Linked DNA regions of Homo sapiens: regions 1 and 3 are each linked to region 2. The links are contacts of gene promoters, found by promoter capture Hi-C in blood cells and fetal thymus (Javierre and others, 2016). All regions are on one chromosome and are shown on one strand. The core of a region is centred on a gene start or on the middle of the fragment in contact, and the rest is flanking DNA. Distances in the headings are between cores, read along the strand shown. Region 1 overlaps TMEM184C (transmembrane protein 184C). Region 2 holds the start of SMARCA5 (SNF2 related chromatin remodeling ATPase 5). Region 3 holds the start of NOCT (nocturnin).

Region 1 (3,898 bases), core at 1,044-3,543, 4.1 Mb before region 2:
ACCATGCCTGGCTGATTTTTGTATTTTTAGTAGAGACTAGCCATGTTGGCCAGGCTAGTCTGGAACTCCCAACCTCAGGTGATCCACCTGTCTTGGCCTCCCAAAGTGCTGGGATTACAGGCGTGAGCCACTGTGCCCGGCCCTCTTTACTATATTGAACTATGTATAGTTTTACCTTCTGTTTTAAAAAGATTTACTGATTATTTTCCCATATAATTAAATATTCTACATCATGCTTTCTTCCAAACTCCATAGTATTCTATTATATGACAGGGCCATGATTTATTTTAATAATTATTCTAGTATTGACATATTTAGGTTGTCTCAAACTATTTTCTTCATATAAATGTTACAGCGACCATCTAATTATTTCTTTTGAAAATTGTAGAAGGGCTAAAAAGATGAACTTTTAAAAAGAGAAGTAGAGACATTTTAATCTATCTTCCGCATTAAGACTGTTTAAAAATCCTCCTTAATCAACGGTTTTTACTGCCCTTAAAAAAATGAGAACATTTAAAAAAAAGTAACACTTACCAAAAAGAAACAAAAACCACCAGCTTTACACAAAGAAATTTGCCAACAGGTTGGATTGGGCTCAGTTCTTCTTTTAGTACTTTATAAAAGAGCAGGAGACAATACATGGCAAACTAGAAACAAGATTAACATTTAAACTTGTTCAGTAATAGATATGGTAATAGAAATATTAAAGTTACATACCAGAGACCTGGTACAGAGTAATGTTTCAGGCAAACTTTTCTAGGCTTTATTATTCTATTTTTAGATTAACAAGCTTTCATAGTTTACTATAGATGAATATATACTACATACAACATCTTCCGTAAAAATGTTTTTAAGTGTTCACTTCCTGGGTTCCATAAAGGGAACAATAAACAAATGATTGACATAAATGGAAGAAATGGCTCTTGTTCAGCCAAAATAAAAAAATCCATCTGTAACGGCTTTTAAACATAAATTTCTGACCACTCATTTTATGAGGCTTTAGCTTATTACCTAGTCTATCCTATGTAACTAAAGTAACCCATTAAACAAGTACAATTTCAATAAAATTGTGACTATGAAATCTGAATGTAAAGAATCAAACAATTTTTCCTGAGAGCGGTGTATTAGTTCAGCTAGATTTATTTTTTAAAATGAACAAGACTTACTAACTTTTTAGAAATCTGTAATAACCTAGTGTAGTGCTGAATAACAATAAACATTTTCCTGAAAGTTCACTATTCCCTATTAAAATCATATAAAATGCAAATTCAAAGTATTTTAGAATATGAAACCAGTAAAGAAAGAAAGAATAAAGTGATTCATGGTGTCCAATCATCCTTTTTACACATAAGCCAGTTTTTAAATAACTGTCATGAACTAATTATAAAATTTTATTGCCTAATGTTTTTTCCACTTAAAATACATAACTTCTATATGTTTCATCAGGCTTATTTTTAGTAACTGCCTAATATTTTGGCCAATGGAAAGACCACAGTGCATTCAACTAGTCCCTAACATTGGGTTTTGGATTGCTTTCAGCCTTTTGTTATTTACAAGTAATGGGCTTTATATACAAAGATACTTTAGGCAAACATACTTTTGAACACTTCTTTAGAATACATTCCCAGAAACAGAATTACTGGTTCCAAAGAGGATGAACATGTGGGAAAACTTTAGCTACATGGACATTTAATTTTTATTATAAAGCTCTAATACCAACCATGCATACCACTGCATCTAAATTATTTTGCTGACAGCATTAGTCAAAGAATTTAAATAAAATGCACATTTTTTTAAGCTTGTAAGATCAAATAGGACATTACATCATAGGTCTTTGGAACATACAGTTTCTAGAACATCATCCATTTTTTTAAACTTGGCATTCTCAATTTTCCTTTAACTTCAAATATATGATAACAGAGAATTTTATTCTCACATTTTTATTCAAACCCTGTACCATCAAATACCAATTTGATATTTTCTCTTCTGAATATGTTCAGTATATGTGGGCGTGTGTGTGTATTTTTTTTTTTATGTAGCACTGTGCTTTTATTTATGACATACTCATACAGCTATGCAATGAGCAACAGAAATAAATGAACAAACATGGTCAACATGTGAGGGTATAAGTTGCCAAATAATAAACAAAGATGTTATTATATCTTTATATATGTATTAAGATATATATTAAATTTTTTTCAAGTCTTTCTATAAATTAAATTTCAGATTTAATTTATAGGAAGATTAAAAAGAAGCAAGCCTTATCCTAAGAAGAAACTTTGTCTAAAGAAATTTAGTTATAGATACGAATTTAGTACAGTTTAAGAAAAGTGAACATTTTACTTACCAACTGTGACATGTTGTTTATTATAACCAAATAAGTCCAAGCATTTGAAAAGCTAAAGTTCCCTTCGTCATATATACCAAGCAGCTCACAGATTCTAAAAATAGTAAAAATGAGATATCTCTGATTAAATCAAAATCGTACTTCAAAATACAGCAATAGCAATACTTAAATTTAGAAGTCAGTTTATTTGAGATCTCACTGACAATCACTTGACTTTGGACACAGAGAATTTAGAAGTCAGTTTATTTGAGAGATCCATTGACAATCACTTGACTTTGGATCTAGAGGTGGTTCAAAAATGAAAAACCCATTTTTTTCTAGAAATATTACTATATTCCTTCAACTTGAAGGAAATCCCAAATAAGACACATAACACTTAACTAGAAAGAGTACTAAATTTAAAAAAAAACAACTATGCTGTCTAATTTTGGGAAAGCTTGATTGTTAAACATAATATAATGCAGGTGTATATAACTGTAGTTGTTAATTTTTTCCCCTCAATTGTCTTGGAGGTAAATTTTATGAAGACCCAGATCCCCTCAAGTAAGTATGACCATCAGTATTGTTATAATCTTACCCAATTTCTAAGCTGCAGGGAAATAAAGCATGCCTTCATAATTAAATGGCTAAATAATTGCTAGCTCAAAGGCAGAATAAAGAATTCTTTCACAAGTCTTTCTTTCCACTTTTCCTCTGTGAGCATGCAAAATGTTAGTAACAACTAGGAGATAAAACATGTAATCTATTGGCATTAAAGTATTTGATGTTCTTGAATTTTTAGGGAATAGTTTTGCCAGGTAGCTTAATGATACCCCATTTTACCTCAATTCTAAGCCTTGATAGAATATATTAAAAGAAAATATGACTTCTTTCTTAGAGTACTTCTAATATATTCTAAATTAACTATGTAGAAAATAGAACTGTAATTAACCTAAAGTAGCATACTTTAACTTCATGCAATAGGGTTTCTGTCAAGCTATGTATCTGAAAAAGAAGGTATTTTTTTTTCAAAGTGCTTTACGGCCAGCTAGCTCTGGAGAGGATGTGAATATTTAGGAGACCCCTGTGGTGACTCTTTGCCTATAAATGGTCATGTTATTTATTTTAATAGAGTGAGTTTCTATACAGTGTTTTTTTTTACAACAGACTAGACCTGCATTATAAATAAGCACATTAACACTATGTTTTCTACTTAGTTGTTCCCACATAAGATCACAAGGATGAAAAAAAAAGTTCATATAAAATCCGAGTACTTACAAAGCAACGATGGTGGTGAAAGGTCTGACAACTGTGTACTGTAATACACCTAGTTTGCACCTAAACAGCAATACTCTGCAAAAGAAAAAGAACTTAGAATTTCAACTACTCATTTAAATAGCATCAGATTTTCCCCAAAGCCTCCAAATTAAAATCACTTTGATGAATGATACCATATTTACAGTTAATTCTTTCAATGTAGTCATCCTTAATAGCAGTGGCAGAAGAATGTGGATGGCAGGAAACAAATTATCTAAATACCTTTTTTATTTTTTGAGATATAGGATCTTATTC
Region 2 (4,012 bases), core at 900-3,399:
TTTTTGGTAAGAACATGGCAGAGCAAGATGGGTGGGAAACGGCTCACTTTTAAAGGCAGATCCGAGTTTTATTACAGGTTCTACCTAGTAGAACTCAATTTCCCCATCTGGCAAATGAAAATATCACTAATTTAATACGGTAGTGATAACATCTATACTCACGTTTGAACTTAAAATCAATTTTCATTTAAAATAGCAACTTCAAGTCAAAAATGTTGACTTGCTTTAGGCTTAAAATTACTCTGCATTCAGATATTAATAAGACCTCTGGTGAAACATTCATTTTTCCAAAGTTTGGATGGCAGACCCCTTTGAGAAGCTGAGGAAAAACTATAAACAATTTTTGTAGAGAACTGCACATTTACACATAATTGCTTTGTGTCAAACCCCTTAAGCCTTGGAACAGAAATCCAAGTTAAAGAGCCCTAGTAACCCAAAAGAACCATTTCCTTAAGGAAAAAAAAGCAACACTGAATATATTTTAATTTGGAAGTAATCTTATCTTAATCACTCAAAACTACAGGAACTATCAGGAGTTCCTATGTCACTAAACCTACCCTCACCACTAAAAGTTCTTTAAATGATTACTAACATTAATGTTACTTAACCCCAGCTACCCAAATATAACTACTGTGCCAAAAGCCTCAATGGTAAATTACGCTACCATTTTCTTACTGTATAATGATTCTGCATCAAGACTCATCTTCGGAGCAGTATTACTTTCATTCTGTCTAAGGATAGGAAAATCCCAGAAATCTTTGGGCTCCGACTCACAAAATATCTCAAAACAGGTCGAAGGCCAAGAAAATAAAAATTGGAAGGAGCAATTACTTTGTTCCCAGATGCAAAGCCTGGAAGCATATCCAATTTACCCGCCTGGCAGCTTCCCCCATCTTTCCAGCCCCCTCAGTACTGTCAGCATCCCCTGCCCAACCCAAACCCATAAGTCTCGGCAGCGAGTGGTACTAATTTTTTTTTTTCTTAAGGCCAGAGGCCAAAAAGAGAAAAGTGCCGGACTGAGAGCCAACCAACTGCGCCTGGTTCTCTAATTCATTCCTACACTTATTCATCCCCCCTAAATTAGACGGGGGATCCGAGACAGCTGCTGCTGCCTTGGTTGCTTCCCTTCCAGTGGAATAGTGCCTGGGAGGGGCCTTCTCTCCCTTCACAGAAGCAGCTGCGCCCCGCTTATCCCCACTGCGCACTCGGCCATCCAGCTCTCGCCATTGTTTCTGCCCACAACAGATACCGCCCCTGCAAGGACCGGGAAGAAGAAAAGGAGGCCCAAGTCCTCGGACGCGCTGCTTTTAAATGCCTCCTTCACCCCGCCCGTGCATCCCGCTCCTAAGGGGTCATCTCCTCGCCCTTCCCCGAAGTTTGGTGGAAACTAAAAACCACATTCAGAGGTAGGAGAGGGAATTATGGGAGTCTAGTGGGAAAAAAACGATGGGTCCCCCGGGCCACGGTAACCAAGAACATCTGTTCACTGAGAGCGTTCAAATATTTGTCAGGATTCACGAAAGAGACAAATAATTTAAATGTGAGGAGCCAGAAATCCATTTTGCTTAGCTCGAATAGGGTAAGAACAAGGGAGCAAGAGTGAGAGCATCATTTCGTATCCACAGGGTGTGAAGCTGAGTCTGGTGCAGAGAGAGAAACCCGGCTCTGCGTCCGATCGCCACGATCCGGCGAGGGAGCCAGCTCCTCCTCCCCGCTGCACCCGCTCCCCATGCCGCAAGTCGCCCTCACCTCCATCTCGGCGTCTGCGGGACCAGCGCTGGCCGCAGACGCAACCGCCTGCGCCGCGACGCCTTCGGGGCCGCCTTTGTTGCTGCTGTTGCTCCCGCCGCTGGCGATCGAGGCTGCGGGCTTGGAAGGCGCGCTCTCGGGAGGCGGGGGTGGCGGAGGCTCGGCCGCGGACGACATGATGTTCCGTCTGCGTCACCCGCTGCTGCCAGAGGCCCGAGTCCGGCGGGGATGGACGGGGAGGCCTAGGCCTGGATGCTACGTCGCAATAAACTGGTGGAGGAGCGAGACTCCCACCCGAGCGCTCCCCTGCGCCGCGCCTCCGCGACGGGCCTGAGCCGGGCCCAGGAGCTGCACACTCCCAAACGTTCTGCTCTTCCGCGGGGCTCTAGGTTCCACCGGCGCTTACCTCACGGCGGGAATCACGTCGACGAGGGTGGGCGGGGCCAGACGGGTCACTGAGGTCAAGGAAGGCCGGCTGATTTAGAGAAGGGCGGAGGGTTGGGGGAAGGGAAAAGGAAAACGAAAGAGAGACTGAGGCTGGGAAAACGCTTCGCCGCCTCCTCCTCTTCCTCTGGAAGATAACATCTATCTCGCCAGCATCCAGGACGACGACCTACGCCACCGACTTTCAACACTCGCGAGATTCCTTATTGGCTCACTGACTGGGTCCTGAGCGCGCATGCGCATACTGCCCTCCTCACCCTTGGCCCGCCCTCTTCCAGATCTCTAGCCGGCTCGGGAGAGAAGAGTGGGCGGGACCTCCAGGGAGCGCTCGGAGGTGTAGGTTTGTGCGCCTGCTGCTTGGCAGGACGCGAGCTCAGTGTTTTAGGCTTTCGTAACGGCTCACGGTTCTCGCTGTGTCTTCTGTGCCTGACAGGGGTTGGCGGCACTACCGGAAAACTTGTCTGGGTTTTGCGCTGCCCATTCAAACTTGGAAGTCTTGTGTCTGGCCCCAAAACTTCTGCCGTATCCGCTTAGAGGCGTGACGCCACAGCCTTGACGACGTTATGGTTACCCCAAGTGAAGTCTCACGGTTTTTTGTTGTTAGAAAAAAAAAAAAAGTCCGTTAGTGTGATTTTTTTCTTTTTTCTTTTTTTTTTTTTTTGCCTTCTCATGTTAGCTGCGTCGGTTATTTCTAAATACCCTCCTTAGGCACAGAGTTAAATGATATTTCTTCTGAATTTATATGCCAAAGTTAAGCAAATAACGTGCACACTACCATGGAAGTGAGAAACACGAATAATCAATATATGGGGAAGATAGGTGGTGCGATGTAATCTTTTCCCCAAGCATCAAACATGAAAATTAAAACGTACATTCTCCTTAAGTGTTAACAAATATTCAGCACTGATTTTGTATACTGCCTTAGGCAGCCTTCAATGCAGCTTAAGGGCCTTGTGCATTCATCGCCTACAAAATTTAAATACATTGTAGTCTGTTTGATAACGAATCTGCATACTACAGTAGATTACCTGCCCAGTACAGGGTCTTTTTTATCTTTTTTTATTCCTCATATTCAGTATTCTCTAAATGTTTGTTGAGTAAAGGAGACACATTTTTCGAGAGTTGAGGTTTGAGCTAACTGGTTATGTTGAATTCCAAACAGAAGGGATCCCCTTTGAATATATAGCCTGCAAATTTTTTAACTAATGGAATGATAATTCTTAAATGGACATCTGGAAAAATGTCCCCACTCCACTAGAAATGCTAGTTCTTAGACTATAAGGAAATGTCTAAGGATATATGCAAAGATGAATACCTACAATGATGTTCATCATAGTCTTCATATATGACTGCAAAAAGCTAACAACAGTAGGCTGAATCCAGTATTAAAAGTTAGGTGTTTAAAACTGTCATACACCCAGAAAATGAACTATTAACCTTTAACAACCATTAATGTAGAATAATGGTTGTTTTGTGTTGTTTTGTTTTCAGACAGTTTCTGTCGCCCAGGCTGCAGTGCGGTGGCATGATCTCAGCTCACTGCAATCTCCAACTCCCAGGTTCAAAGGATTCTCATGACTTAGCCTCCGGAGTAGCTGGAATTACAGGCGTGCACCACCACGCCTGGCTAATTTTTGTATTTTCAGTAGAGACAGGGTTTTGCTGTTTTGGCCAGGCTAGTCTCAAACTCCTGGTCTCAAGTGATCTGCTCGCCTAGGCCTCCTAAAGTGCTGGGGTTACAGGCGTGAGCCACCGCACCTAGCCAAAGAATGTTAATTTATAAAGTGTTAACTGAAAAATTTGGTTTAACAGTTCAAAA
Region 3 (4,197 bases), core at 839-3,338, 4.5 Mb after region 2:
GGCTTCAATCACATTCCAGATGACCATTTTTAAAATATATACATTTTTTAAAATTTTTATTAATTTTGTTTTGAGACGGAGTTTTACTCTTGTCACCCAGGCTGGAGTGCAATGGTGCGATCTCGGCTCACTGCAACACTCCGCCTCCCAGGTTCAAGTGATTCTCCTGCCTCAGCCTCCAGAGTAGCTGGGATTACAGGCGAGTGCCACCACGCCCAAGCCCATTGGCCAGGATGGTCACGAACTCCTGACCTCGGGTGATCTACCCGCCTCCGCCTCCCACAGTGCTGGATTACAGGCGTGAGCCACCGCGCCCGGCCTATTTTTTTAAATTTTATAGGCCGGGGGGGCGGTGGCTCACGCCTGTAATCCCAGCACTTTGGGAGGCCAAAGCGGGAGGTTCACCTGAGCTAGGGAGTTCGAGGCCAGCCTGACCAACATGGAGAAACCCCATCTCTACTAAAAATACAAAAATCAGCCTGGCGCGGTGGCGCATGCCTGTAATCCCAGCTTCTCGGGAGGTTGAGGCAGGAGAATCGCTTGAACCCGGGAGGCAGAGGTTGCGGTGAGCCGAGATCGCGCCATTGCACTCCAGCCTGGGAAATAAGAGCAAAACTCCGTCTCAAAAAAAAAAAAAAAAAAAGTTATGTATTGCCTAGTTTTGAAAGAAAAAATTTATCAATTTTTAAAGTATAATTAATTTGTATGTAATTTGTGGCCATGGTAATGTGTGCCCAGGCAGAAACAGAGGTAGCAAAAAAGGAAAACTCAGGGTAGTTATTATGATGTATGAAAACAGCTCTTGGTGAAACTAAGGCCTCACTTTTACAAGATCTTAGATACACAGGACAAAAAATGATGTTAACTATAAAGAGTGGAAGCCTCCAAAAAAAAAAAATCCAAAGAAACGTAAAATGGCCGAGCGCGGTGGCTCACGCCTGTGATCCCAGCACTCTGGGAGGCTGAGGCGGGTGGATCACGAGGTCAGGAGTTCAAGACCAGCCTGGCCAAAATGGTGAAACCCCCGTCTCTACTAAATATACAAAAGTTAGCTAGGCGTGGTGACTGGCGCCTGTAATCCCAGCTACTCGGGAGGCTGAGGCAGGAGAATCGCTTGAACCCGGGAGCGGGAGGTTGCGGTAAGCCGATATCGTGCCACTGGACTCCAGCCTGGGTGACACAGTGAGACTCCATCTCAAAAAAAAAAAAAAAAAAAAAAAAAAAAAACAACGTAAAACGAATCAATGTGTTATTATCACGACTTAAAAAAAAAACTTAATATCTAGACCATGAAAGCTATATAAGCAAATAAGCATCATTTAGATTTTTTTTTCCATAAAAATTTCCGTTAAGTCGTGCAATAAAAAATGTAACCAACATAGTAACTCGCGGCCTCGGAAGGGGGAAATTTAACGGTCAAGAACAAGAAATTCTGAAAGCATGGCCTCTAAGGGTCAAGCGGGAACCTGAATACAGTCTCCCAGTTCTTACTAGCTTTGATGCAAGCCCCAGGCAAGTCGGGGAACAGGGAAAGAGGAAAAAGGGAACGCAGAAGGTTGCTCCGGTAAAGGACCCACTTTCAGGCCAGACTCCACGACCGGCAGCCCCGGGCTTCTCATTCATTCCGCGCGGTCTCCAGGTGGCGGCCGCGCGTTGGCGGCCGTGGCGTTCTCCGCCCGGAACTGGGGTGCACTCACCTGTTCGGGAACACGACCTCGCGGCGCCCGAGGCCGCCGAGGCCGCCGCCAGCAGCCGGGGGGATGCGGGCCTGGGAACAGCAGCCGGCGGGGACAACGGGCGGCGCAGCCCTGGGGCGGGCAGGCGGCGCAGGCCGGGCGCGTCCCTCTGCAGCAGGGCCGAGCAGAGCCGCCGCGGACTATGAAACATGCCGGGCGCCGCCGCCACCACGGCCCCTCGCGCGCCCGAGGAGCGGAGCCCGGCTGGGGCCGAGGGCACCGAGTCGAGCCGACTGTCCGGGCAGTGTGGGCGGATGCTCCCAGGCTCCTTCTCGCGCGGCGCAGGTTCTGGGGAAATCCCGGGCAGCAGAGCCGGAGAGGGAGGTGCAACACCGCTGCGTCGGCACCGTCTGCTGTGAGACCTGGCGAGACCTGCAGGGCGCCCGGCGAGCGCTGCGCGCTGACAAAGCGGGCGCTACCAAGCGGGAGCTGGAGGGGAATCCGCGGGACCCGGCCACTGCGCGGCCACGCCAGGCTCCCTCGACCCGGCGTAATCCTGTTTTAAAAGGAAGCGGGGCTTAGGCTGATTTATAGATAGAATCCGCAGGCGGTCTAAAATAAGAGGTATCCGTTGGAGCTGTTCTGAAGAAAAAAGCGTCCCCTTCCGCTGGCCAGCATGGAAGCGCCCACAGGCTGGGAATCCCGAGACAGTTCCAGGGCTGTGGCCCAGGGGACACGTGTCTGTCAGAGTGGCAGACGGCCTACGTGTGTGCCTGCGCGGGTCTGTGTGGATACAGCAAAAGGCGTCCGCCTCCGACCCCCTCGGCAGTGTGTGATGCGTTAAACGATATTAAGCACAATAAAGCACCGCCTGTGGGCGAGGCGACGATGATTAAAACAGCGTTCTTTTCCTCAAAAGTGTTATACTTAGGCAAAGGGAGCAGAAGGTGGCAAGGGAAGTCAGACCAGAAAGCTCTACAAGGTAGAATGAGATTATTGCCACAAGATGCCAAAGATTGGCTATAGAGATGACAACAGGCCCGGGCTCTCTAGAAGGTTCATTAGAAGGATTGGCATTTGAGTTGGCCTATGACGTGGAGGTCTAGAATTTACCCACGTGAAACTTTGGAGGGGGTGGTGGTGAGTTATAAATGAAAAAAGTAAATAAGGGTGTATTTGGGGAAACAACTCTTAGTCATGTAAGATGGAAGCTAAGGAGTAAGAGGACAGATGCGTGGATAGGTTGTAGTGTGGAAGGAAGGGGATTATAGTAGGCTTAATTCGGTGGATAGCTGCGAGCCGTTGACGTTTTGTAAGCTGAGCAAAGACATGGTCAGGGCTGTGCTTTAATTGGAAATCACATGTCTCTGGTTCATGAAAAGGCAGAAAGGAAATCAGCTGAGATAACAGATACTGTAGACCCGCACCAGGTTACTGTTACTGGAAAAGAAAGGATGGAAGAAACATCTCAGACAGGCTGGGCAGGAAATGATGACTAATCAGGAATAGAAATGGGATGAGGGGGAGGGAAAACCCAAGACTGGATTTTTCTCTGAATGATTCATGAGTTAGAAATGTATTCTATTGGTTTTCCCATGATTTTGCTGATTCCCCTGTGTTGTGGAATTGCAAGCTTTTCATCACAAGAATATTCTAAATATTTTTCAGACCTAGGTTACATATCTAACACCTGTGGATAGAGGGTGTGGACAGATCAGCTGGCACAAGTTGATTACAACTTCTGGCAGACAAGCTCCTTGGAAGTCATTAAAGCCTCAGTTTCAGTTTCCTTATCTATAAAACATAGAATCATACCTTAGTCATTAGGTGAAATAAAAAATGATAATAAGCTACTCTGGGCACACTGTCTATCGAGTAGTCCTGCTCCACAAGGAGCAGTACTTGTAAAAAGAATTTTTTTAAAAAGGTGATAATAAAATTAGCCTATGAAAAGTGTTTTGCAAATATAGCAAAATGTTGATTTTGAATCTAGGTAGTGGGTATATATGGGTATAGGGACCATGGGAAAAATGTTCCCTTTGCCCTCTGAAGTTTGCTGAAAAATCAACTCACAAAAGGCAGATTAATGGGAGAAAAGGCATATGCATTTATTAACATGTACATGGGGAGAATCACAGAGTGATTACACACCCCCAACGGGGTTCAGAAGCTTGTCTACCATCCTGGCCAACAGACTTGGGGAGAGGGGAGCAGAGGCATTCTGTTGAGGAGATGACTAGGGAAAGTGAATGGATCAGGGCACAGGGATGAACTTGCACATTATCTTGTGAAAGGGTCTGTTCAGGTGGTTACATTTTTGGTCTTACAAGGAGGGGAAGAAAAAACAATTGTTCCTTTTGGTGGGTTCGGATTGTAGCCAGATAAAGGAACTTCAACTTCATCCTGTGCTTTGGGAGAGATGGTGCTGGGCAGTGAGGTCAGAGAGACCTTGAGGCTTCCATTCAGCCGGTCAAAGCCCCATATTTTGGGCTATCAGTTTCTGAGTCCCGACACAAGTGTT

Evidence for each region. The method cuts DNA at HindIII sites, captures the fragments that hold promoters and counts their contacts. A CHiCAGO score of 5 or more calls a contact.
Region 1: a fragment that was not itself captured here is called in contact with the fragment with the promoter of SMARCA5 in region 2 in 1 of 17 cell types (neutrophils); the score reaches 6.2 in neutrophils.
Region 3: a contact is called between the fragment with the promoter of NOCT here and the fragment with the promoter of SMARCA5 in region 2, in 1 of 17 cell types (activated CD4 T cells). The highest score is 8.0, in activated CD4 T cells.

Annotation. Positions count from the first base shown.
Region 1 is chr4:147,628,142-147,632,039 of GRCh38, reverse strand. TMEM184C (transmembrane protein 184C) reads right to left here. Exons shown (of 10, transcript NM_018241.3): 5 at 3,605-3,679; 6 at 2,348-2,441; 7 at 535-647. Among named protein-coding and RNA genes, the nearest start is that of TMEM184C, 13 kb to the right of the region's middle. The HindIII fragment of the contact is 985 bases long and covers 1,801-2,785 here.
Region 2 is chr4:143,511,839-143,515,850 of GRCh38, reverse strand. SMARCA5 (SNF2 related chromatin remodeling ATPase 5) reads right to left here and starts at 2,149. Exons shown (of 24, transcript NM_003601.4): 1 at 1,750-2,149. The coding sequence starts at 1,926. SMARCA5-AS1 (SMARCA5 antisense RNA 1) reads left to right here and starts at 1,014. Exons shown (of 2, transcript NR_104027.1): 1 at 1,014-1,406; 2 at 1,626-2,379. RefSeq lists enhancers at 1,529-1,648, 1,709-1,768, 2,059-2,428, 2,459-2,528, 2,559-2,648 and 1 more. The HindIII fragment of the contact is 18,533 bases long and covers 1-4,012 here.
Region 3 is chr4:139,013,672-139,017,868 of GRCh38, reverse strand. It overlaps NOCT (nocturnin), which reads right to left and starts at 2,088. Exons shown (of 3, transcript NM_012118.4): 1 at 1,698-2,088. The coding sequence starts at 1,887. RefSeq lists a silencer at 1,649-1,948 and enhancers at 2,089-2,438, 2,471-3,392, 2,529-3,728. The HindIII fragment of the contact is 5,482 bases long and covers 1-3,311 here.